4 separate regions of the Homo sapiens genome follow, and all the other regions are linked to region 3. Evidence: promoter capture Hi-C in 16 types of primary human blood cells and fetal thymus (Javierre and others, 2016). All regions are on one chromosome and are shown on one strand. The core of a region is centred on a gene start or on the middle of the fragment in contact, and the rest is flanking DNA. Distances in the headings are between cores, read along the strand shown. Region 1 overlaps SUFU (SUFU negative regulator of hedgehog signaling). Region 2 has its middle 23 kb from the start of ELOVL3. Region 3 holds the start of NFKB2 (nuclear factor kappa B subunit 2). Region 4 has its middle 34 kb from the start of NOLC1.

The links. The method cuts DNA at HindIII sites, captures the fragments that hold promoters and counts their contacts. A CHiCAGO score of 5 or more calls a contact.
Region 1: a contact is called between a fragment that was not itself captured here and the fragment with the promoter of NFKB2 in region 3, in 5 of 17 cell types (erythroblasts, M1 macrophages, M0 macrophages and 2 more). The highest score is 7.7, in erythroblasts.
Region 2: a fragment that was not itself captured here is called in contact with the fragment with the promoter of NFKB2 in region 3 in 1 of 17 cell types (endothelial precursors); the score reaches 5.2 in endothelial precursors.
Region 4: a fragment that was not itself captured here is called in contact with the fragment with the promoter of NFKB2 in region 3 in 2 of 17 cell types (endothelial precursors and M0 macrophages); the score reaches 7.5 in endothelial precursors.

The regions. Positions count from the first base shown.
Region 1 is chr10:102,599,383-102,606,315 of GRCh38, forward strand. SUFU (SUFU negative regulator of hedgehog signaling) reads left to right here. Exons shown (of 12, transcript NM_016169.4): 8 at 51-162. Among named protein-coding and RNA genes, the nearest start is that of TRIM8-DT, 40 kb to the right of the region's middle. RefSeq lists enhancers at 370-1,120, 4,338-5,537. The HindIII fragment of the contact is 3,650 bases long and covers 1-3,075 here.
Region 2 is chr10:102,199,736-102,206,667 of GRCh38, forward strand. No RefSeq gene overlaps it. Among named protein-coding and RNA genes, the nearest start is that of ELOVL3, 23 kb to the right of the region's middle. The HindIII fragment of the contact is 1,949 bases long and covers 2,001-3,949 here.
Region 3 is chr10:102,394,418-102,399,730 of GRCh38, forward strand. It overlaps NFKB2 (nuclear factor kappa B subunit 2), which reads left to right and starts at 1,288. Exons shown (of 23, transcript NM_001322934.2): 1 at 1,288-1,379; 2 at 1,471-1,563; 3 at 1,836-1,917; 4 at 2,032-2,072; 5 at 2,308-2,406; 6 at 2,487-2,638; 7 at 2,885-2,991; 8 at 3,110-3,268; 9 at 3,564-3,668; 10 at 3,795-3,880; 11 at 3,968-4,106; 12 at 4,322-4,447; 13 at 4,871-5,080; 14 at 5,160-5,301. The coding sequence starts at 1,543. RefSeq lists enhancers at 1-253, 1,304-1,353, 1,764-1,883, 3,355-3,649 and a silencer at 4,864-5,183. The HindIII fragment of the contact is 5,152 bases long and covers 1-3,420 here.
Region 4 is chr10:102,182,349-102,189,450 of GRCh38, forward strand. No RefSeq gene overlaps it. Among named protein-coding and RNA genes, the nearest start is that of NOLC1, 34 kb to the left of the region's middle. The HindIII fragment of the contact is 2,363 bases long and covers 2,839-5,201 here.

The DNA.
Region 1 (6,933 bases), core at 1-2,500, 200 kb after region 3:
ATTGCTGGGAGCCCACTGGGCCACTGGGCAACTTAGTGGTGTCGTTGCAGACACAGAGCAGATCCGGGAGACCCTGAGGAGAGGACTCGAGATCAACAGCAAACCTGTCCTTCCACCAATCAACCCTCAGCGGCAGAATGGCCTCGCCCACGACCGGGCCCCGTAAGTTCCCCAGTGTCCCTGGGCTGGAACAAGAGGACGACTTTTTTCTGAAGGGCCTGTCCCTGTGGATTGCATGAGAGAGAACAATGCACATAGCCCTTGCTGGATGGGCCCAGGATCTCTAGGCTTAAGGGCAGGCATGGTCTGGGGCACACAGATCTATCTGTGGGTCATAGGAGAGGGCCTCAGAGGGGACCCAGCAGACCGTGAATATTAACATCAGTAAATATTTACATGAGCCGTGTGAACAGACAGGAGGCCAGGTTGGGGAGAAATCTGACTTGGGGCCTCCCAGCCTTGTGGGAGCCCATTGTGCTGAGCACGGTTCCCTCCTTATCTCAGTCTTGGCCAGAGTTGCCCTTCCTTCCTTCCTGGAGCCTGGTCTCCGGCTGATAGCTGCAACCCTGGGGGCCTCCCTCTCTGGCCAGCCCCATACTGGATGCCTGTGGCTGAGGCCCTTCTTCCTGCCTCTCTTCCCTGGGGCCCAGGGAAGGGAAAGGAAGTCTTTTGCAGGCCTCTGCTGCCTGTCCAGGGGCCCCTGTAGCCCTCCGGAGAGACTGTGGCCACCCTAGAGGTCAGATCCGCTTCCTGCCAACCTCTCTTCCTCTGATAGAGGGGATGAGTGATAGGCAGGGCTGAAGCTGGGCACCCCCCTCTGCCCTTAGTCCCAGGGCAGCTCTAGGGAATAGCTGCTGGCAGGAGATACCTGGGGGCTGGCAGCCCAAAGCAGGAACCTTGCCTGCCAGGGAGGAAATTGCTGTGCCTTGGGCTGAAAGGGAGGTTGATCATCCTGCAAGACCAGGGTGATCTAGCCTTCTTCTATGAAGTCTTTATTACACATTTGCTGTCTGACAAGCTCGGACCTAGGGGGCCATCTGGGGTGCACAGGCTCTTCCTTTGGGAGAACATGAGTGAAACAGTTACCTTTTAATGGTGTGCATCTGGCTGTCGATGTGATTTGTTGGAAATGGCTGCTTCTCTGGATTCTAGCTCTAGTTGCTGATCGTGTTTCCCAGAAGTAGTAATGCTTCAGTGCACTACAGAAAAGACAGGTCCACAGGATCTGGGGTAGTTAGGGAGGGCATCTTGGAGGAGGAAGAACATAGCATCGACCTTGAGGGCACCTTAGAATTTTAATAAGCAGGGGAAGGAACTCAAGAGGATAGCACAGGGGAGGCCTGGCTGGTTAAAGTTGAGGCTGCCTGCTGGGACCTGACTGGAACTAGAGTTACTCTGGGAACAGGGCTGTACTGAGAGTTGAGCTCTTTGGCAAAAGCCTGGAGAAGCCTCCACCGCCACCTCAGAGCAGCTTTTAACTCCGGCCTGTAGGTTTCTCCAGCCAGCTGCCCTGAAGTAGCTGGCTGGAGGCATCCTGATCATCCCCTGGCAGCAGCAGATGGCCACACCAGGTCATACGACATATGGAAGCTCTCTACCTGTGAGTCTGGACCCTGTCCCGGGTCTACACTCCTTCCCATTCCCTGAGCTTGGCTTCTCGCTTTGGGCCTCCTTGGCACTGTTGGCAGGCCAGAGGTACTGGAAGGCCTATAACATGGACACAGTCTCAGTCCAGATGGCTCTCTGCCTCTGGAAGCCTGGGGTTTCTAGGCAGAAGGGCACAAGCTCCTGCAGAGATACAACCTTCTTGCCCCGCTTGTGTATCTGGAACAGGCCTGAGATCTCACTCCCTGGCTTGGGGGCACTTCCAGCTACTGCACCCCTGGACATTGCAATGGGGCACAAGGCTCTGTGCTCCTAGATATACACATAAGCCGAGACTCTCAGCCTACACCCTAACTGGGCAGTCGGGTATTGGTTCTGGCCCAAGGGTTCTCTGTAAACATAAGGCAGAGAGGCTGCAGCTTCTACCCTTTGGCTTGAGTTGGCTGAGATACAGAGAGATGGGTGAGAATAGATTCGAGGTGCCGGGGTTGTCTCCCCTTCCTGAAGGTTTAGTGCCCAGTAAGGTCTCTAAAGCACCAGGACCTGTAGTCTGAGGGGAATAGAATGTTTCCTCTGAGGCTGTCAGTATTGGTTACCAATTTGTTAGCAATTGGTTGAGAAATGGTTTCTCCTCCTCCTTTGCCAAGAACATTCTCCAACACACCCCTCAAGCCTGTCAGACTCAAGTTTCCTGTTATCTCAGGATCGATGATGATGGACTCAGTTCAGATCAGTGAGCGTGACGGTAATATCTGTGCTGCCCACTCTGGGACCTGACCCCATTTCACATACACCACATGGATTGCAACTGAGAAAGCTGACCCAAAATGTGCTGGCACCAGTGTTTGCTCCTCTCCCTGTTGGGGGGCAGCCAGCGTGGGCCATATTTTGTCTGCGGGTCTGATTTCCCCTTAGTCAGGACTTCTGGGCCAGGGAGCTCTTATGCATGGGTCTTCGCGGGTTTGTCTGTGGTCTAAGGAAGATACAGAGCTAAATCAGAGGCTCAGAGCAGCTGATCAAGCCTGGGCAATAGCAGCCGGGTGCCGGCCTACTTGGGGGTGTCAAGCACTTGCTCTTTTCACACTTCAGCAGCAGCTAAAACCTTATTAGTGCTCATTCTGTGCTAGGTAATGTGCCAGCTACTATGTGCTGCCATTCATTTATCTTATCCTCATAGCCATCCTGTGGTCGATAATCTTACATATTCCCCTTTAATGGATGAGGTACAGAGAGGCTAATAAGTATCTTTTCCAAGGTTGGAAAGGGGTAGAGCTTAGTTACAGCCATCTATCAGCCATTAAAATGGATGTAATCTTCCTTACCCCATTCTCAGGGACCCCATGGGGGACACATCAGACTGTGTCTCTGAGAAAATAATGACCTTTACTGGTAGAATTCATCTAACTAGTTGCAGCATGAATCAGGACCTCTCACATGGCACCAAGGACAAGGCCAAAGCCTCATATTAGAAGCTTATTGGGCTTATTTAACTAAACTCTAGGGGAGTTAAATAACTCCTATGAGATGCCATGAGCCTTGATGATTCCAAATCCCAGAAATAACAAGCTATGTCATAATTGGCTCATTTATACCAAAATTATTTTGTGACACAAGGCCTTACTTTCTTCATGTGCAGAAACTAAAACAACCCTCTCTCTGGTCCCTCTACCACCTCAGGGCTAGGGGATTTCTTTCCATTTTGAGGGTCTATTTCTTCCTTTCCAGAAAGGCAGGCCCCCTGGGTAACCCGCTCCTCTCCTACTCTTCATTGCCAGCCCTCCTCCCACTGCCTTCCCGGAAGGAGAGTCCTTGGCCCTCTTTGGGGCTTCTTCAGCATTTCACAACCCTTGCATTCCAGCCATGAAATCTGTATCTGGCTTTTCCCAAGATGATCAGTTGAGAAAAGCCTCCTTCAGCTTGCTGGCGCCTCCCTTCCCACTGCCTGCTCGGGTGAGTTTGGGAAGGATGGGAAGCAGTTCCTTTGTGCCACATGAGGACAGCCTGGCTTAAAGACTGTGCCTGCCAATATCTGTAGAGATTTGAGGAGGGAAAAGTTCCTGGGCATCCTCTCTGTCTGAGGTCACCTGGTCAGACATGGTCTACGGAGTCTGGTCTCTCTACAGTGCACAGAAGATACGTGTGGTCAGGTGAATTGTGTGTAGAGGTTTTCTTTTATTTATTTCTTTTTTTTAGACACAGGGTCTCCTTCTGTCACCCAGGCTGGAATGTGGTGGCAAGATCATAGCTCACTGCAGCCTCGAGCTCCTGGCCTCAAGTGATCCTCCTACCTTGGCCTCCCAAAATGCTGGGACTACAGGCATGAGCCACCACACCTGGCCTGTATTTCTCTAAACTGTTGCTCAGATGCTGGGAACCTGCACCAGTATTCTAGGGCCACCTCCTCCCTCAGCCAGTGACTTACCACCTGAGGCTGGGAACTCTTAGGAAGCTCTCTGAGTTGTGTGCCCTCCCAGAGAGGGACAGGGCACATGCAGGTGTGCACACTTATGTTAGAGGGGAAAAGTTCCTGACTATGGGAGAAGCACTTTGTAGTTGAGGCACCTCTAAAAAGCGAACTCACCATCACTGCTGAGTTTCTCAGTCTTCTAGAATCACACCAGCAGCTTTTAAGACCTTTAAAAAATTTTTTTTGCCTTAATTTCATGGAGAATTAAGATTCTGTACCATGAATTCCTCTGCTGTAACATTCACATTTGCAACACCTCCCCAACATACACACACACACATATACATAGATTTCTCTCTACTCTTAGGAGTGTCTCTGCACTTGTCTGTTTGGCCTTTGATTGGGGTGACTTTGCTCCCTCTAATTCCCATCTTGAATACCTTGTAACCTGGCCAGGGAGTCATCCTTTAGAGAAAATTGTGTTTTGTTTTGCTCAGCTTGTGAGGTCCATGAAGATTAATTAGAGGAAGAAAATATCTTGTTTGCATCCAACTTACCAGTGAATTGGGGTGAAGGAAGGTGAGTTTCCATCTGGGGAAACAGCTGGGCTGTGGCTGGTGCCGCTCGCACGAAGGGCAGTGTTGGGTAACCCTGCTTCAAGGGGTCTCTCCTGTCAGCGCAGTGGCCAGCCTGGAGCCCTCTCTGTCACGTTGGCTTCCCTCACACTCCCACGCTGGGGAAGTACAGTTGCTTGCACTGGAAAGAAAGCCCAGAAAGAAACAGCCCTTCTCTTAGGGCCCCAGCCAGACTCTGCAGGGCTGATGAGAGGAACAGCCCAGGCCTCTCTGCTCCCTGCGTCCTGGACAGCAGGCTCCTTTTTGCCTCCCTCACTGTGATCCATGTTGTCATGCCAAGTGCCTTTACAGGCCTTTCTCAGAAATACATATTTGAAAGGGCAGAGCAAGGGGCTCCACAGCAAGTCTGGCATGGGTAAATTTCTGTTTTAACTCCGTTCTTTGCTCCGCTTCCCCAAAGAGATGAAGTCACGGCCATTGTTAACACCTCAACTTCAGAATTCCTTGCTGGTGCTTGAATTCTCAGTCCAAACGCTGCATCCCCCTCCCTCGAGTTGCACAATCAGGGGTATTTTTATCGCCCATCCTTGATCCTCGGTGTCACCCAACACTTCAGCAGTGAGTCACTTCTCCAGGGAAGGGAAAAGGAAGGCTCAAAGGTAAGAGCTAGAGAAAGGAAATGACTCAGTGTCTCAGAAAAAGGAAAGCTGGGGTTCTGGCTAGAGTAAGCTCATTCAGGAGAGTAGGGGTCCTAATCTCCCACCCAAGTCAGAGGGTAGGGCTGGGGATGGCGGCCCCTGGTGCCCAGAGGAGTTAATAGTTGACTAGGAAATCCCCTAACCTTGATGCAGATTTTACTCACCCTGACTTCTTTAGCCATACTCTGTCCCACCATTTCATGATTTCATGATCACATTTTACCTTTGGGATATTCCCGATGAAAATATTGCCTTTTTTTTTTTTTTTTTTTTTTTTAACACGAGGTGAAGTCTCACTCTGTCACCTAGACTGGAGTGCAGTGGCACAATCTCGGCTTACTGCAACCCCTGCCTCCTGTGTTCAAGCGATTCTCCTGAGTAGCTGGGATTATAAGCACACACCACCACGTCCAGCTAATTTTTGTATTTTTAGTACAGATGGGTTTTCACCATGTTGGTCAGGCTGGTCTCGAACTCCTGACCTTATGATCTGCCCGCCTCAGCCTCCCAAAGTGCTGGGATTACAGGCATGAGCCACTGTGCCCTGCCAAATATTGCATTTTTAAACTGGGTGTGGTGGCTCATACCTGTAATCCCAGCACTCTGGGAGGCTGAGGCAGAAAGAGCTCTTGAGTCCAGGAGTTCGAGACCAGCCTGGGCAACATGGCAAAACCCCATCTCTACAAAACATTAGCCAGGTGTGGTGGCACATGCCTGTAGTCCCAGCTACTCAGGAGGCTGAGGTGGGAGGATTGCCTGGGCCTGGGAGGTTGAGGCTGCAGTGAACCGTGATCACACCACTGCACTCCAGCCTGAGACCCTGTCTCAAAGCAAAAAAAGAAAATACTGCATTTTGTCATTTGGTTATTGGTGTTTACTATTCACCTTTTGTGGCCTTTTACTCCTATATTGTCCTTATAAGAAAATTTGTCAGAATAACCAGGTTATACAGCCTTGTGCTTAATAAGAACTTCAGAGGTGAGCTGGTCCCCTCTCCCTCGATCCCACAGCCACACCCTTTTCCAGTTCTGCCTTAAAGGGAGACCTGCAGGTGGTTCTTTCTCTGGAAAGTTCAGAGCTTTCGTCAGCAATCAGAAAGCAAAAGGAAGAATCTCCCAGGCAAGGGGCAGAAGCCAGAGGTTGGGCTGGGCTCAGCAGGCCAAATCCACTTCACTTGTGAATAGTTGCCAAGCTTGATGCCCTGGTTCCTGTTCCTGGGCATCCCCAAGGAGAAGGCCCCAAGTCGTGTGTCCACTGCAGACGTCATGACTCACAGGACTGGGATTGTGGCTAAAAGGAGTCTCAATGGTTCAGCTCCTCTCCTTTCCACCCATGCTGCCACTGACTGAATGGGACCAATGCCCTTTAGGCGAATGTGAAAAATTAAGACTTTTCCGTTCAGAGAGACCAGGGTGGAGGGGAAGCATGGTTGAGACTCTGTTGGTCTGTTATGTGTAGGTAGGGTGATCAAGGCATGTACTATGAACTGTACACTGCTAGAAATCAGGAATCTACCTTGACACTGGAAGGAGAGGGTATATTAGGATCTATAAAAAGTCACCTTATGCAGTGAGAAATACAAGTATAGAATGTGTTATATAGACAGGTGGTTAAAGATGAAATAGATCAGTTTAGATCAATTGCACCT
Region 2 (6,932 bases), core at 1,725-4,224, 190 kb before region 3:
CCAGGACCGGGGCTGTAAGGAGGGCCTGCTTTAGCTCTTTTGTGTCTGGAATTGGTGGGTTCTTGATTTCACTGACTTCAAGAATGAAGCCGCAGACCCTTGCGGTGAGTGTTATAGTTCTTAAAGCCAGAGTGTCTGGAGTTTGTTCATTCTGATGTTTGGATGTGTTTGGAGTTTCTTCCTTCTGGTGGGTTCGTGGTCTCGCTGGCTCAGGAGTGAAGCTGCAGACCTTCACAGTGAGTGTTACAGTTCACAAAGGCAGTGCGGACCCAAAGAGTGAGCAGCAGCAAGATTTATTGCAAAGAGCAAAAGAACAAAGCCTCCACAGTGTGAAAGGAGACCCGAGCAGGTTGCCACTGCTGGCTGGGGCAGCCTGCTTTTATTTCCTTATCTGGCCCCACCTACATCCTGCTGATTGGTGCATTTTGACAGGGTGCTGATTGGTGTGTTTACAATCCCTGAGCTAGACACAAAAGTTCTCCAAGTCCCCACAGAGCACTGGTTGGTGCATTTACAAACCTTGAGCTAGACACAGGGTGCTGACTGGTGTGTTTACAAACCTTGAGCTAGACACAGAGTGCTATTGGTGTATTTACAATCCCTTAGCTAGACATAAAGATTCTCCAAGTCCCCACCAGATTAGCTAGACACAGGGTGCTGATTGGTGTGTTTACAAACCTTGAGCTAGGCACAGAGTCCTGATTGGTGTATTTACAATCCCTTAGCTAGACATAAAGATTCTCCAAGTCCCCACCAGATTAGCTAGACACAGGGTACTGATTGGCGCATTTACAATCCTCTAGCTAGACATAAAAGTTCTCCAAGTCCCCACCAGATTAGGTAGGTACAGAGCACTGATTGGTGCATTTACAAACCTTTAGCTAGACACAGAGTGCTGATTCGTGCGTTTACAATCCTTTAGCTAGATGTAAAAGTTCTCCAAGTCCCCACCAGATTAGCTAGATACAGAGTGCTAATTGGTGCATCCACGAACTCTGAGCCAGACACAGAGTGCTGATTGGTGCATATACAATCCTCCTGCTAGACATAAAAGTTCTCCAAGTCCCCACCCGACTCAGGAGCCCAGCTGGCTTTGCCTAGTGGATCCCTCGCCGGGGCAGCGGGTGTACGCCTGCATTCCTCAGCCCTTGGGCGGTCGATGGGACCAGGCACTGTGGAGCAGGGGGTGGCACCTGTCGGGGAGGCTCAGGCCATGCGGGAGACTACTGCAGGGTGGGGGCTCGGGCATGACGGGCTGCCATTCCTGAGCCCTGCCTTGCGGGGAGGCGGCTGAGGCCCAGAGAGAATTTGAGCATGGCACAGGCGGGCTAGCAGTGCTGGGGGACCCGGCGCCCCCTCTGCAGCTGCTGGCCCAGGTGCTAAGCCCCTCACTGCCTGGGGCCGGCGGCGCTGGCCGGCCGCTCGGAGTGCGGGGCCTGCCAAGCCTGTGCCCACCTGGAACTCGCCCTGGCCCGTGAGTGCCACATGCAGCCCCGGTTCCCGCCCATGCCTCTCCCTCCACACCTCCCTGCAAGCAGAGGGAGCTGGCTTCGGCCTCGGCCAGCCCAGAGAGGGGCTCCCATAGTGCAGCTGCAGGCTGAAGGGCTCCTCAAGCACGGCCAGTGAGGCCGAGGAGGTGCTGAGAGCCAGCGAGGGCTGCGAGGGCTGCCAGCACGCTGTCACCTCTCACTTTCACTGCCTGAATTTCCTCTGGGGACTACTGCAAAGGATCAGGTTCCTCTTCTTGTGACTTGAGATACAGGATCTTTGTCTTTTGAGCACATGAGTCAATCCATAACCTCCAGTAGCCAGTTAAACCTAAAAATTTTCAGAGTTCTTTCTTTGTCTTAGGCAGAAGCCCACTATTCCTGGTATTCTTTCTGGGTTTATTCTCCACCTCCCTTCATTAATCAGGTATCCTAAATATTTAACTTATTTTTCTACAAACTGCAATTTGTTCTTAGAGATTTGCAACCCCCTTTCTCCTAGGGAATTAAGCAAGCTTATGGTGGTTTCTGATACTTTGGTCTTCCTCTCCCTAGAAATTAAAAGATCATCTACATATTGTAATAACTGGTTTCCCCTGGAAGGTTGGAATTCCTTCAGGACTTTTTCTAAGATTTGACCAAATAAGTTTGAGGCATCTGTGAAGCCTTGTGGCAGCACAGTCCAGCAGTACTGTTGTTTTCTGCCAGTTATGGGATTTTCCCATTCAAAGGCAAAGAGATCCCTACTCCTAAAGTCTAGGGGACATCTTTTCTTTCCTGCTCCTCTGTTAGGAGGCCCATCATTACTTTTATTTGTCCTTCCTCTATTCCTAATCCTAAACCCAATCTCACAATCAGGTCTCAACTCAGGAGGTTAGTTGCCTGCTTCAGGAACATATAAGAGTGACCCCTCTATTTGTTCTGGTCCTAATCTAATTACCATTTTCTTGAATATCAGAACCTGAAATCCCTCCCCTTTTACCCCTGATACTGTCAATTTTTCCTTCGAGTCCTGTACCCCTTGGTTGATTAATTAGGAAGGAGAGAGACAGCCCAGTATCAAGCAAAAATGTTACTTCTTCCCCATCGGGTCCCACCCTCAAATTTATCAAGAGTTCCTGGTGGGACCTACTTACAAGGAACCCCTGACTCCCTAATCTTCATCAAAAGTCATACAGTGGATTACTTCTCTTCCTTTTTCCATTCTGGACATTCTCTTTTAAAATGTCCTGGTTTTCCACACTTGTAACATCCACTTACAGTCTTAGGAGTTTTTCCTTGTATTTCTCTTCTGTCTTTTTGCTGAAACCTAGTATTTTCTTGTCTCCTCTGAGAGGGGTCTTGATCTAACTTCTTCCTGACTACCTCCTCTGCAGTGGAAACCATTATTTTCGCTTTTTGTTTCTGTTTCTCCTCTTCTCTTCTCACAAAGATCTTTTTGAGCTTCCCTCAGTAATTCCTCAATTGATTTTTCATTCCAACCATCAATCTTCTGTAATTTTTTTGTAATGTCAGGCTAGCTCTTAGTTACAAAGTTAACATTCAAAAGGCCTTGCCCTACTGGGGCCTCCAGATCTAATCCAGAGTATTTTCTCATCTGATCTCTGAGCCTCTGCAGGAATGCAGAGGGAGTTTCCTCTTTTTCTTGTTGAATCTTTGAGACATTTGAGACATTTTGTGTCCTAGAAGTCAATTATTTGATCCCTTTAATTATTAGTTCCCTGAGGTCCTGCATTTGGGCCTGGTCCCTGGGATCATTATTATCCCATTCGGGATTGACATTTGGAAATTTTTTGTTTGGCTGGCAAGACTCCTTTCCTCGGAGGATGTTGCCTCTTCCAGATGGTCATTGCCACCCTCCTAATCATTCCTCTTTCTTCTCCTGTGAATAAGATATTCATGATAGGCATTATTTCAGTCCAGGTATAAAAGCTGGTCCTAGGAATTGGTACAACTTGTCTGCTAAATGAAGGGGATCCTCTAGGAGTGGTTTCATTACCTTCTTGAAATTCCTAACTTCAGTACTTGTAAGAGGAGCGTTTACAAAGCCAATCTCTTTCTGTCCTGTGGGAACTTCCCTAAGAGGGAACATGCTAGATGTTTGCTGTTTGGAGGGGATAGGGAAGTTCTCAATATCTCTTTTACATTATTCTAATTCTTTTCTTAAATTTGGATAAGGGTCTAAAGGAGCAGTTGGTTCAGCTCCCCCATGGTCTCCAGGTCTTTCTTTCTCTAACTCTCCTGCTGCCCCTTGATCTCCCTGTCCCCTATTTTGTGAGACATATGGAGGGGGCTCCCATGATAGGGGGTCCCAGGGCTTTTCACTGGGCAAGGGCTTTTTACTAGGCTCTTTTTCTTCTTCTTTGAGGGGGGAACATGGGGGCTAATTCCTTGATCCCACAGACAGCATAACCTATCTTCTCCTGTGCAGATGGGGTTTTATCATTCACATAGAGAATTAAAGCTTGGCACACCCAATCCTCATCTGAGCCAACCTTAGGCCAAAAGACTGAAGGCTTATGAATGGGGTCTTTGGGTCAGGTAAAACAGCAATACTTTATCAACTTTTGCTTTTCCTTGTCCCTGGCTGCAGGGTTGTCCCTCCAAACCTGCAACATTCATTCACCCCAAAGGACTATCTGGGGGAATGTCAGAGGGAGTCTCTTTGGCTCCCTCTTTCCTTTGTCCCTAGGCCTAGAATTTCTGTTTCCCATTTTTGGCCAGTCTCTGTGTCTGGGCCTTTCCCTATGTACTCAACCCTCCTACTGGAGGTTTCTTGCACACCCTGAGAATCGCTTCATCTGTTTCCTGCCGATTCCCTCGCAGGAGAACGGAACTGTGGATTGGGACTCCGTGCTTGCTTCGTATCTAGGGTATGTCTCAGTCACACACACTCAACCTCCAAAAATGCCCAACCACCAAGGTGGTACTTACAGTCTGGTTTTCCTACCTTGGCTCATGCACAAGGTTGCCTGGTTGCCATAGTGTCTGCTTTTCTCCCTATGTCACCTCTGCTGCCTGCTGAATAACAATCTCAGGTTTGTCTATGGCCTATGTGGGGAGCTGGGACACCTGCACAGAGCGGGCCACCTAAAATTGGGTGAGATGTGTCTCCCCTCTTGGCTGGAGTCCCATTCCATGCAGGCACAGAGATCCTGGATGAGCCCCCAAGTTTGTGAGAAACGCTCACCTGTCCAAAATCAAATAATGGACTCAGAGACAGGAAGTGCAGCAGAAGCAAGACTTTTAATGGCAATCTTGCAAGATCAGATGTCTGGTAGGCAGGCACACCTGGGGCAGTTACAGCAGGTAATTTATCTCCTAGCATGCAAGTCTTTCCCCCAGTTCCTTACTGGTTGAGTACTACAGGGTTACAATCTTCCCAGACGTCACCTAAGTTTCATTATCCCCTTATAAGGTTATACTCTGGTCCCCTTCCCTGCCTATGTTTCAACTTCCCAATAATGAAACTTTCTCACCTTTTATGGGCTGACCCTTCTTCTACATCTTGTTCTCTTATGATGATTTTCTAGGTGCATGAGCCATTCAGTTTGTCACATCTGCAGGGTGGCTGCTAGTACATAGATTTATCATGCCCTGAAAATGAACCATTTAAATGTTTTTTCACAATGGCATATACCCTAAATGCCCTGACTTGATCATTACATATGCTATGCATATAACAAAATACCACATGCACCCCATAAAAATGTACAAATATTATATATCAATAAAAAATTTAAAAAAAAAGAAAAAGGGAGAAAGATGTTGAATCTACAACCACACTTTACAATCTAAGGAAGTAGAAAAAGAAAAACAAATGGTAGCAGAAAGAAAGAAATGAAGACTAGAGCAGAGATAAATGAAATAAGAAATAGAGAAAACAATAGAGAGAATCAATAAAAACCAAAAGTTGTTTGTTTGAAAAGATCAACAAAAGGCTGGGCTCGATGGCTCACGCCTGTAATCCCAGCACTTTGGGAGGCTGAGGTGGGCGGATCACGAGGTCAAGAGATTGAGACCATCCTAGCCAATATGGTGAAACCCCATCTCCACTAAAAATACAAAAATTAGCTGGGCATGGTGGTGTGTGCCTGTAGTCCCAGCTACTTGGGAGGGTGAGGCAGGAGAATCACTTGAACCCGGGAGGTGGAGGTTGCAGTGAGCCAAGATAGTGCCACTGCACTCCAGCCTGGCGACAGAGAGGGACTCTGTCTCAAAAAAAAAAAAAAATGTTCAACAAAATTAACAAACCTTAGGCCAGATGCAGTGGCTTACATCTGTAATCCCAGCACTTTGGGAGGCCAAGGCAGGCAGATCACCTGAACTCAGGAGTTTGATAACAGCCTGATCAACATGGTGAAACCCTGTCTCTACTAAAAATATAAAAATTAGCTGGGCATGGTGGTGCATGCCTGTAATCTCAGCTACTCAGGAGGCTGAGGCAGGAGAATCACTTGAACCCAGGAGGTGGAGGTTACAGTGAGCTAAGATCGTGCCGTTGACTCCACCCTGGGCAACAAGAGTGAAACTCTATCTAAAAAAATAAAAATAAAAATAAAATAAAATTAGTGGTGGTCCACACCTGTAATCCCAGATACTCAAGAGGCTGAGGTGGGAGGATCGCTTGAGCCTGGCTGGTTGAGGCTGCAGTGAGGTGTGCCACTGCACTACAGCCAGGGTGACAAGAGTGAGACCTTGTCTCAAAAAAAAAAAAGAAAAAAAGGCCAGGCGTGGTGGCTCATGCCTGTAATCCCAGCACTTTGGGAGGCCAAGCCGGGTGGATCACCTGAGGTCAGGAGTTCGAGATCAGCCTGGCCAACATGGTGAAACCCCGTTTCTACTAAAAATACAAAAATTAGCCAGGTGTGGTGGCAGGCGCCTGTAATCCCAGCTACTTGGGAAGCCTGAGGCAGGAGAATCACTTGAACCCAGAGGTGGAGGCTGCACTGAGCTGAGATCACGCGATTGCACTCTAGCCTGGGCAACAAGAGTGAAACTCCGTCTCAAAAAAAAAAAAAAAAAAAAAAGAAATGCCTAGAATAGGCAAATTAATACAGACAGAAAGTGGATGAGAGCTTACCAGGAGCCAGAGGGAAGGTGCAATGGTTAGCTGTTGCCTCACAAGTACAGAATTTCTGTTTGGAGTGATGAAAAAGTTTTGGAACTAGTCAGTAGTGATGGTTGTACATTATGAATGTAATTAATGCCACTTAAGAATGGTTAATGTGCACATGTACCCTAAAACTTAAAATATAATTTAAAAAAACAACAAAAAAAAGAATGGTTAAAAGGGGCCAGGCATGGTGGCTCATGCTTGTAGTCCCAGCACTTTGGGAGGCCGAGGCAAGTGGATTACGAGGTCAGGAGATCGAGACCATCCTGGCTAACATGGTGAAACACCGTCTCTACTAAAAATACAAAAAAAGTTAGCCAGGCGTGGTG
Region 3 (5,313 bases), core at 38-2,537:
TAAACTTTCAGCCAATGAAAAAGGGCGCGAGGCGTGACGCACGGAAACGTCATGGGAATTCCCCCCTCCGGGGGGCCGAGAAGGGGCTTTCCCGGCCCTGAGCCCTGCTGGCAGGCGAGGTGTCGCGACCGGTCCCAGGTGGGTCGGGCGCGGAGAGAAGCCGCAACCAGAGCCGCCGCCACGGTGAGTGGCTGGATTCAGACCCCTGGGTGGCCGGGACAAGAGAAAAGAGGGAGGAGGGCCTTTAGCGGACAGCGCCTGGGGCTGGAGAGCAGCAGCTGCACACAGCCGGAAAGGGCGCGCAGGCGACGACACTCGGATCCACGTCGACACCGTTGTACAAAGATACGCGGACCCGTACGTACACCTGTACCTGTGCTGGCGCACACACGGCAGCGTCCGTGCAGTCGCACTCGCACACACATGCACACGGAGACGTGCCCACCGGTGCACTGGTGCCTGCACCCACACCCTTCACGCACAAACTCAAGATACGCTCACCCGTGTCCGTACATCAAGACAGGCGCTGACACACACCCACACTGAGAAGCTCGGGATTCACCTATCTACACACATGCTCGCTTGCACACTCATGTTGACGCCATGGACACACAACATGCAACCAAGCACTACAGCCGAAACACACTTGTGGAGCTGTGATGGAGACACACTCTTGTATTAGGTGGGGGGGGGGGGGGGGGAGCGTGCAGAGATCTCCCTGTCGCCTGCGCGCCCAGAACCGGTGCGGTGTGGGACCAGCTGCTGTTGTGAGGTTTGGGAGAGAGAGAAAAGAGCCCACTCCGAGGAGGAGACACTTTTCCCGCAGCCCCAGAATCGCGTTCTCGGGGCAGAACCCCGGGGCCTCCCACAGGAAAGAGCCCCCGCCTACAGGCTGTTCGAAGGGGAGGCCGTCCGACAGCAGGAATGTCCCCCCAAAAGCCCCCGGGGTTTATCAGCCGTGGCCTCCCTCCTGGCAGAAAATCCCAAGGTTGCTCCAGACCGGGGGAGGGGAGCGGGAGGCGGACTTGGCCCCAGACTGCCAGCCTCCTCCCGGCCGTGAAAGACCCTCCTGTTCCCTGCCCTGGAGGGAGGAGGGGGCTTAACCCCCACCGGGGCTTCCCGGATTCTCCTAGACCTCTGCCCGCTGAAAAGCAGCGGGAGCCCGTAGACTGTCGAGGGCCTCCCGCCCCTCCCGTCGCGAGGGCGGGGCCAGTGGCGTCATTTCCAGGCCCGCCCCCTCCGGCCCCGCCTCCCCTTGGTATTTTCGGGACTTTCCTAAGCTGCTCTAACTTTCCTGCCCCTTCCCCGGCCAAGCCCAACTCCGGATCTCGCTCTCCACCGGATCTCACCCGCCACACCCGGACAGGCGGCTGGAGGAGGTCGGACCCTCCCCCAAATCTGGGCCCCCATCTCCCGCCCACCCCCATTTAGATCTGACCCCCTCCCCCACGCCACTCCTCCCAACTTTAGGCGGGCGTCTAAAATTCTGGGAAGCAGAACCTGGCCGGAGCCACTAGACAGAGCCGGGCCTAGCCCAGAGACATGGAGAGTTGCTACAACCCAGTGAGTCATGCCGCCTGCCCCTGACCCGGCCGGCTGCCCCTCGTGTCTGTCCACCTGTCTGCCCGAGCCCCCTCTGCTGCCTTACACCTGTATGCTCGCAGATGCTCTCAGCCTGCCAGTCTGTCCATCTGTCTGCAACTCTGCCTCCAAAAGGAGCTTTCTCTTGGGTCTGAGGAGGAGGGGGGAGTGACCACTGAAGACTTGGAGATGGGAGGTGGGGCTGTGGGGGGTGCTGAGAGTCGGATGCCACCCCCAGTCTGTCTCCAAACCAGGGTCTGGATGGTATTATTGAATATGATGATTTCAAATTGAACTCCTCCATTGTGGAACCCAAGGAGCCAGCCCCAGAAACAGGTCAGCAAGTTCACTAACCTCCCCTAGTCCTAAAGCGGGGGAGGGAGAGCATGTGCCCTCTCTCTGGGGGAGGGGCTGGGAGATCGTGGCTCAGCAAGGTCTCTCTGTCCCCAGCTGATGGCCCCTACCTGGTGATCGTGGAACAGCCTAAGCAGGTGAGTGAGCAAAAGGGAGGGTGTGGAATGGCTTCAGCTTTGGGGACAAATGGGGTAGTGGTAGCTGGCTGGCCATGGAGGAGCCATTGCCGAAGGAGGCCACAGGGGATTGGATGGTCACTGCTGCTGATCAGAGTGCTGTAGTTTGGTTCAGGGCTACTACCAGGCACTGCGGTCACTGCTGGCCTGGGTGGTCTTCCCTGATCACAATGCTACTATGCCCTTGGACCTTCAGAGAGGCTTCCGATTTCGATATGGCTGTGAAGGCCCCTCCCATGGAGGACTGCCCGGTGCCTCCAGTGAGAAGGGCCGAAAGACCTATCCCACTGTCAAGGTGAGCCAGGATGGTGCTGGAGGGTGGGCTAAGTGGACAGCATGCCCAAGGCCCTGACTGACAGTCCCTGCCTCTCCTAGATCTGTAACTACGAGGGACCAGCCAAGATCGAGGTGGACCTGGTAACACACAGTGACCCACCTCGTGCTCATGCCCACAGTCTGGTGGGCAAGCAATGCTCGGAGCTGGGGATCTGCGCCGTTTCTGTGGGGCCCAAGGACATGACTGCCCAGTAGGTGCCCTCTACGCCTGGCCCCCACTGGTATGCCCGTCTGCCAGTCCCAGGCCCCAGCCCACCTCCATGAGCTTAGCATCTGACCAAGGGGAAAGATGTAGGTTGGCCCCAAACCCAAGGGCCTAAGTAGAAACTCCAATGGCTTCCTTGAGGAAGTAAGGCTGAGCTGAGCCCTGGCAATGGGAAAGGTGCCTCAGGAAGAAAGAACTGCATGGCCAAAGGCCTCCGATTCTCTCTTCTCAGATTTAACAACCTGGGTGTCCTGCATGTGACTAAGAAGAACATGATGGGGACTATGATACAAAAACTTCAGAGGCAGCGGCTCCGCTCTAGGCCCCAGGGCCTTACGGGTATGGGTGCAGGGGGTGGGTCGGGTATGGGTGCAGGGGGTGGGTGGGTCATGGGAGGTGCTCATGGAAGGAGCAGGGAGGGAGAAGCCCAGGGGTCACACATGTACCTACTGCCCAGAGGCCGAGCAGCGGGAGCTGGAGCAAGAGGCCAAAGAACTGAAGAAGGTGATGGATCTGAGTATAGTGCGGCTGCGCTTCTCTGCCTTCCTTAGAGCCAGTGATGGCTCCTTCTCCCTGCCCCTGAAGCCAGTCATCTCCCAGCCCATCCATGACAGCAGTGAGTATCCTGATTGCCTGGGGTGCCAGGCCTGGTGGCAGAGGTGGCATGAGGGGTGACCTCAAGCTGTGCAGTCAAACAGACCCAGGTTTCAGAACCTGGCCCTGCCACATATGAGCTGAGTGATCCTGAGCAAGTCATTTCCCCCCCGAAGCTTCTGTCTTTAGTAAATGTGTATATTGGGTGTTTCCTGCAGCTCCAGGGGTTGCTGAGATAAGGAATACAAAGCCCCCAGCTTCTTAAATGTGGCCTTGGCTATTGCATCATCTCAACTAATCCATATCCCACTCCATAGAATCTCCGGGGGCATCAAACCTGAAGATTTCTCGAATGGACAAGACAGCAGGCTCTGTGCGGGGTGGAGATGAAGTTTATCTGCTTTGTGACAAGGTGCAGAAAGGTGAGACTGGAGCCCACTTTGGGCACCAAGGACATCGAGTATAAGACTGGGGCCAGGGAAGCTCTAGGGTAAATGGCCCCAGAGATTCCACCGGGAGCTGTGGCCAAGCTTCCGTTTTCCTTGTAGATGACATTGAGGTTCGGTTCTATGAGGATGATGAGAATGGATGGCAGGCCTTTGGGGACTTCTCTCCCACAGATGTGCATAAACAGGTACCCAGGGCTAGGGCCCGGGCCCGGGCTGGGGGCTAAATTAGGCTAAGGACTCACTGACACCCTGTGTCTCCCTGCACCCCCCAGTATGCCATTGTGTTCCGGACACCCCCCTATCACAAGATGAAGATTGAGCGGCCTGTAACAGTGTTTCTGCAACTGAAACGCAAGCGAGGAGGGGACGTGTCTGATTCCAAACAGTTCACCTATTACCCTCTGGTGGAAGGTGGAGCTGGGCTGAGGACCTCAGGGTGCTGGCGGGGGGCCAGGCTGGGCTAGAAGAAGGTCCCAAGAGCTAGATGTGGGGATGCATGAGCCAAGTCAGAAGTGCGAGGGTCCCAGGAGGTGCTTCCTAGGAGCCGGCCCTGAGGGCTCTTCTGGGAAGGGCCCCTGAGGCATGACACAATAACTGGGCTCAATCTCATTTTCCTCTGCCCCCAGACAAGGAAGAGGTGCAGCGGAAGCGGAGGAAGGCCTTGCCCACCTTCTCCCAGCCCTTCGGGGGTGGCTCCCACATGGGTGGAGGCTCTGGGGGTGCAGCCGGGGGCTACGGAGGAGCTGGAGGAGGTGAGGGGGTACTGATGGAGGGAGGGGTAAAGGTAAGAGAAGCTGTGGAGGAAAAAAATCTGGGGGAGGCCGGGCGTGGTGGCTCACGCCTGTAATCCAGCCCTTTGGGAGGCCAAGGCAGGCAGATTACCTGAGATCAGGAGTTCAAGACCAGCTTGGCCAACAGCGTGAAACCTCGTCTCTACTAAAAATACAAACATTAGCTGGGCATGGTGGCAGGCGCCTGTAATCCCAGCTACTCGGGAGGCTGAGGCAGGAGAATCGCTTGAACCCTGGGAGACAAGAGGTTGCAGTAAGCTGAGATCACACCACTGCACTCCAGGCTGGGCAATAAGAGCGAAACTCCGTCTCAAAAAAAAAAAAAAAAAATCTGGGAGAGTCATGGCTGGTGCCCGCTTCCCACAGCCCTGCCTGTATCCACAGGTGGCAGCCTCGGTTTCTTCCCCTCCTCCCTGGCCTACAGCCCCTACCAGTCCGGCGCGGGCCCCATGGGCTGCTACCCGGGAGGCGGGGGCGGGGCGCAGATGGCCGCCACGGTGCCCAGCAGGGACTCCGGGGAGGAAGCCGCGGAGCCAAGCGCCCCCTCCAGGACCCCCCAGTGCGAGCCGCAGGCCCCGGAGATGCTGCAGCGAGGTATGGACTCCGGGGCACGGGCGGTCGGGGCGCCGGGGCTGAGGACCTAGCCCTGACCCACGCCCTCTGTGGCCCGTAGCTCGAGAGTACAACGCGCGCCTGTTCGGCCTGGCGCAGCGCAGCGCCCGAGCCCTACTCGACTACGGCGTCACCGCGGACGCGCGCGCGCTGCTGGCGGGACAGCGCCACCTGCTGACGGCGCAGGACGAGAACGGAGACACGTAGGCAACAGA
Region 4 (7,102 bases), core at 2,770-5,269, 210 kb before region 3:
ATTACAGGCATGAGTCACCAAGCCTGGCCAATTTATTTTTTTCTCCCCTTAATTTGAAATGCTACAGAATGAAAGATTTGTTTGTTTGTTTGTTTGTTTATTTATTGAGATGGAGTCTTGCTGTGTTGCCGAGGCTGGAGTGCAGTGGCGCGATCTTGGCTCACTGCAACATCCGCTTCCTTGGTTCAAGCAATTCTCTGCCTCAGCCTCCCGAGTAGCTGGGATTACAGGCGCTGCCACCACACCCAGCTAATTTTTGTATTTTTAGTAGAGACGGGGTTTCACCATCTTGGCCAGGCTGGTCTTGAACTCCTGACCTCGTGATCTGCCTGCCTCGGCCTCCCAAAGTGCTGGGATTACAGGCATGAGCTACCACGCCTGGCCTTGGCATTTTTATTTTATTTATTTTGAGACAGGGTCTTGCTCTGTCACCCAGGCTGGAGTGCAGTGGCACTATCTCGGCTCACTGCAAGCTCCGCCTCCCAGGTTCATGCCATTCTCCTTCCTCAGCCTCCTGAGTAGCCGGGACTACAGGCACCACCACCACGCCTGGCTGATTTTTGTATTTTTAGTAAAGACGGGGTCTCACCATGTTAGCCAGGATGGTCTCGATCTCCTGACCTCGCGATCCACCTGCCTTGGCCTCCCAAAGTGCTGGGATTACAGGCGTGAGCCATTGCTTCTGGCCTTGTTTATTTTTTATTTTTATTTTTTTAAATTGAGACACAGCCCAGGCTGAAGTGGTGAGATCTCGGGTCACTGCAACCTTTGCTTCCTGGGTTCAAGTGATTCTCCTGCCTCAGCCTCCCAAGTAGCTGGGATTACAGGCACTAAGTCCCTATGCTGCACACAGCACAGGAACCCTTGGCCCAGCCCACAAAACTAATTTTTCCTCCTAGGCCTCTTGGCCTGTGATGGGAAGGGATGCTGTGAAGACTTCTGACATGCACTGGAGACATTTTCCCCATTGTCTTGGGGATTAACATTCGGGTCCTCATTACTCATGCAAATTTCTGCAGCCAGCTTGAATTTCTCCTCAGAAAATGGGATTTTTTTTTCTATCGCATTGTCAGGCTGCACATTTTCCAAGCTTTTATGCCCTGTTTCCCTTTTAAAACTGAATGCCGGCTGGGCGCGGTGGCTCACGCCTGTAATACCAGCACTTTGGGAGGCTGAGGTGGGCAGATCACGAGGTCAGGAGATCGAGACCATCCTGGCTAACACGGTGAAACCCTGTCTCTACTAAAAAATACAAAAAATTAGCCGGGCGTGGTGGTGGGCGCCTGTAGTCCCAGCTACTCGGGAGGCTGAGGCAGGAGAATGTGTGAACCTGGGAGGTGGAGCTTGCAGTGAGCCGAGATTGTGCTACTGCACTCCAGCCTGGGCAACAGAGCAAGACTCCGTCTGAAAAAAAAAAACAAAACCAAAACTGAATGCCTTTAACAGCACCCAAGTCACCTCTTGAATGCTTTGCTACTTAGAAACTTTTTTCCACCGGATACCCTAAATCATCTCTCTCAAGTTCAAAGTTCCATAAATCTCTAGGGCAGGGGCAAAATGCTGCCAGTCTCTTTGCTAAAACATAACAAGAGTCACCTTTGCTCCAGTTCCCAACAAGTTCCTCATCTCCATCTGAGACCACCTCAGTCTGGACCTTATTGTTCATATCACTATCAACATTTTTTTTTTTTTGAGACGGAGTTTCGCTCTTGTTGCCCATGCTGGAATGCAATGGTGTGATCTTGGCTCACCACAACCTCCACCTCCTAGGTAAGTGATTCTTCTGCCTCAGCCTCCCGGGTAGCTGAGATTACAGGCATGCACCACCACGCCTGGCTAATTTTGTATTTTTAGTAGAGAAGGGGTTTCTCCATGTTGGTCAGGCTGGTCTTGAACTCCCGATGTCAGGTCATCTGCCCGCCTCGGCCCCCCAAAGTGTTGGGATTACAGGTGTGAGCCACCATGCCTGACCCATTATCAGCATTTTTGTCAAAGCCACTCAACAAGTCTCTAGGAAGTTCCAATCTTTTCCACATTTTTCTCTCTTCTTCTGAGCCCTCTAAATAGTTTCAGCCTCTCCCTGTTACCCAGTTCTGAAGTTGCTTCCACATTTTCAGGTATCTTTTCAGCAACACTCCACTCCTGGTACTAATTTACTGTATTAGTCCATTTTCATGCTGCTGATAAAGACATACCTGAAGCTGGGCAATTTACAAAAGAAAGAAGTTTAATGGGCTTACAGTTCCACATGGCTGGGAGGCCGCACAATCACAGTAGAAAGACAAGGAGGAGCAAGTTACAACTTACGTGGATGGCAGTAGGCAAAAAGAGAACTTGTGCTGAGAAACTCCCATTTTTAAAACCATCAGATCTTTTGAGACCCATTCACTATCACCAGAACAGCACAGGAAAGACCCACCCCCATGATTCAGTCATCTCCCACTGGGTCCCTCCCACATCTTATTGGAGCTACAAGATGAGATCTGGGTGGGGACACAGAGCCAAACATATCACTGCATGTTCTCACTTATAAGTGGGAGGTAAATGATGAGAACACATTGGCACAAAGAGGGGAACAACAGACACTGGAGCCTACTGGAGGGTGGAAGATGGGAGGAGAGAGAGGATCAGAAAAAATAACTAATACTAGACTTTATACTTGGGTGAAGAAATAATCTGTACAACAAACCGCTGTGACAAGTACAAATTTGCTTATATAACAAACCTGCACATGTACCCCTGAACTTAAAAGGTAAAAAACAAACAAATGAAATCAACCCAATAGTTCCAGAGACTATTGTTTTGGATAAACATAAAAATTTATCTTTCTGGTCTTAAAGCTTGAAACTTATATTTGCTTTATTTGAGTTCCTTCATTAGTAAATGACCTTCAGGCTTCTCCCCCGCAAAAAAAAAGTATCAATGAACTGAAACTCACCAGATCACTACATCCAGACAATGAGACTTTGGACCCCTCATTCATCATGATTACTTCCTTGGCCCTCCCTACTTCCTGTTTTCTTACACATTACATTTCTTCCCCTCTGTATAAAACCCTTGTTTTAGTTGATCAGGGAGATGGATTTGAGGTTTTGAGCTCCCATCTTCTCAGCTGCAGCACCCGATTAAAGCCTTCTTCCTTGGCAATACTTGTCATCTCAGTCATTGGCTTTCTGTGCAGCGAGCTGTAGGACCTAGACTGAACCCCTGATGTTTCAATAACATATTTTGGTTCCCTGACTGGGAACATGTTGCTTGTGGCTCAGCTGCCATGGGTGGAGTCTCAGAAGCCCTCTTATGCAGCTGCCTGACAAATTTTATTTTATTTTATTATTTTATTTTATTTCCTTTGAGATGGAGTCTCACAGTGTCACCCAGGCTGTAGTGCAGTGGCACAATCTTGGCTCACTGCAACCTCTGCCTCCCAGTGCTATAGGAGTCAGAAGAAATCACTTGGGCAGATAGCCAGGGTACGGGAATCCTCAGTAAGGCTTTTCTTTTTCTTTTTTAATGAAAAGCTGCCCCAAATCATTTTCTAACAAAGAGCAGCCTGAAACCTGGGAGTTTGCAAGGGTGAATGCCAGCAGGAACTAAGGAGTAGACATGTTCAAGATAGCGACTTCATCTTCCCTTCTCTGCCAGTCATGTGTACTGTAAGGAGCAGACCAGATGGTGTCGATCACCTCGCCTCTACTAAAAATATAAAAATTAGCTGGGCGTGGTGGTGGGCGCCTATAGTCCCAGCTGCTCAGGCGGCTGAGGCAGGAGAATTGCTTGAACCGGGGAGTCAGAAGTTGCAGCGAGCTGAGATCGCACCATTGCACTCCAGCCTGGATAACGAGAGCAAAACTCTGTCTCAAAAAAAAAAAAAAAAAAAAAGAAAAAGAAAAAAAAAACAGATGGTGTCGATCAACTGGAAAGGCCATTTGCGTAACAAGATTAGGGTGGGGCAACCAGCCTTTCCTGAGCACTATGTAAACGTCATAGCTGATCAAACCAATCTGTGAGCCCTATGTAAATCAAGACACATTAAAACAGTCCACACTAAATCAGACACTGCCTCCTCAAACTGGTGTCTTCACTACCAGCCAGTCCTTTCCATTCGGAGACCTCTTCTTCTATAGAGGAAGCTATTTCTCTTTTCTCTTCTACCTATTAAACCTCTGCTCCTAAACCCCTTGTGTGTGTCTGTGTCCTAAATTTTCCTGGCCTGTGACAATGATAAATATATACCTGAGGGCATATACCCCAGACAATGTAGCCACTTCACCAGGTTCAAGTTATTCTCCTGCCTCAGCCTCCCCAGTAGCTGGACTACAGGCATGCACCATGCCCATCTATTGACCAATATCAGCTGGAAGTGAGTTTCAGTTTCTCTCTGGCCCCACCATGGTCAGCCCCAACCATCCTCCTGATTGCCTTGGAAGAATAGCCTTCGAAATTGGACATCTGCATCCAGATAGGTGAGTATCCTTTGTGGGCCCAGACAGCAGGATTTGCTCCTCTCAATTTGGGAAATTTTTAAAAGAATTTTCATTTGCAGGTTGAACAAGCCCAACTGACTGAGGGAGGGAAACACCCTGACTGTTTTTATGTGGACACTCTTGGGGGCTAGTTTATAATTGTATGTTGTGTCTGGGCAAGTGAGTGCCTCGTGTGTGTACCAGACAGCGGGATCAGTTCCTCTCAATTTGGGAAATTTCCTAAGGAATTTTTGTTTGCATTTGATCAAGCCCAACCAATGAAGAGAGGAAGCACCCTGACTGTTTGAGTTTGGACACTCTTGGGGCTTGTTTTTTGCTGCAGCAGTTGGATTGTGTTTTGGTGATCATTTGTGTGTGTTTTATATAGTCATGAGAAGTTAGAATTCGGTAAACTGATATTCATTTGCAATACTGTTGGCCCCAGTGTTGTTTGGAATCTGGCGTTTGCTGTTTGGAATCTGGAGTTTGCTGCTGAATGGGAAAGTGGGATGGAGTTGTGTGTATCCAGGCTTTTGTGCTGCTGTTCTAAGCAAGGTTGGGCCTGGCAGGTATGTGATGTTCTCCTTTGTTGCTGTTTGACCCCAATGTTCTTTGGAGTCTGAGGAGGTTTGGCCTTTAAAAATCAAACTGCCATGGAAACTACTATACCCAAAATTTTGATTCACAGCCTTCACTGAATTACCTACTGGGACAAAGTGTAACCATGTAAAACCAGTAAGCTTGTATTGCTATCTCATAGCTATAGTTCCAAGGTAAAAGCTATTGGATCTTTGTTTATGTGTGTATATTCATGTTTAGATGTGTTTATTTGTATGTACCCTTATTGGTATATGTTGTGTCTACCAAATTGGCTTATAAGTAAAACAGCACTCATAAATTAAATAAGTCAAAGCAATTTTCAAGTTCGTGTGAGTTAAGTAAATTTTTTCGAAACCAGCTGGCTGTAAAATTATTGGTAAAATGAAAATAAAAATGTCTTCAAAATTGTGAGCATACATTTTTGTCTGGATTTTATATTTGTCTCTGGTAGATATTTTGAGGTTTCAGGGTTTGGCATAGAAGGTTATAAAATTATAAACCCAGCCAAAACAAATGATCTTCATGAAAATTTTTTGAAAAGTAGTATTACGGGATCACTGGATGTCAATTTTTCTGGCCAGAAACCTCTGTGGCCAGTGGTGCTTTGCCTGAGTTCTTGTCCTGCGTTCAGGAAGAATGAGGTACTCAGGCAAGTGAACCAGACAAAGAGGAGCTTTATTTAGTATTAGAGCAGCTCAGGGGAGACGCACAGTGGGTAGCTCCTTTCTGTTACTCGTTGTCCCAACGTCTGCTGCTCTCAGCAGAGAGGAGGCCCTGGAGAGGACAGCTCCTGTCTGCTACTGGTCATCTTGACGTATGCTGCCCTCAGCAGAGAGGAGGCCCTGGAGAGGATGGCTCCTCTCTGAAGCTGGTCCACGCAATGTCTCTTCTGGTCTCTGAAGCTCTTAGCAGAGAGGGTAGCTCCTTTCTGCCAGCTGGCCATCCCATTGTCTCTAGCTATCAGCAGGGGGAATAGCTCCTCTCTGCATTTGGTCCTCTTGTTGTCTCCCCAACCTCTGCCCTGCTGTGGCTGAGCCCAGGGCTTTTATGTGGCTCGGGGAAGGGAGTGTGTGCTGACTGGTCCACAGGAAAAAGCACCATGAGTTCCTCCTCCAATCAGCAGGAATGGCAGCCTGGCCCCCACACTTCAGGCCTGTCCTGGCATGAAGGTGGGGCTTCACTGGGGACTTGCCCCCTTCCACCCAGGAGCCTGTCTGCCTTCCACAGCCATCCATAGTGCCCAGGCTGCTGGCACCAAGGGGCACCTGCAGGCCAGCACCAGTCACTCTCAGCCCCTCTCAACTTCCCTTCCTGCACTCCTCAGTGCCCAAAGTCCAGAGGGGGGCAGGGCAGCAGGGGACTGGCGTGTCAGCACTGCCCTGAGCTTGCACACACCTGGCAGCACTGTGACAGCCCCTGGACTTGGCCCCAAGCCTGGTCCAAGATCAGAGTGGGCACCGGGAGCAGGGAAAGGCCAAGCAGCAAGAGCAGGGAGAGGCCAAGCAGCAGGAGCAGGCAACTCTGAGCCTACAAGGGCAAGGAGGGGGCCTTTTCAGGCCCCCCAAGAGTGCAGGGATGCCTGGGTCTGCAGCCCCAATTTGGGCGGCTGCAGCACCCCACAGCGGGGTGGGGTTCCTGCCTGCTCTGTGGAACTGGAGGCCTGTATCTGGAGCTGTGGACCAAGTTGCTGCAGCTGCACCCAGGAAGGGATGGATCCTGCCTGCTCCTGGCCCCAACAAGAGCACAGGGAGGCTCAGATCTGCAGCGAACACCTGTAGTCCCAGGTACTCAGGAGACTGAGGCAGGAGAATTGCTTGAACCTAGGAGGCAGAGATTGCAGTGAGCTGAGATTGTGTTACTGTGCTCTAGGCCAGGGAACAAAGCAAGACTCTGTCTCAAAAAAAAAAAAAAGACTTTTGTCAACCACAATCGATGTTTTGCTTTGATTCTTCTCAAAAAGTGACTTACAATCAGCTACAGTCCAGGGCTTGCTTCTTTGGAGGAGTTCATTAAAAGGACTTTTGATTTGCAGGTTTCTG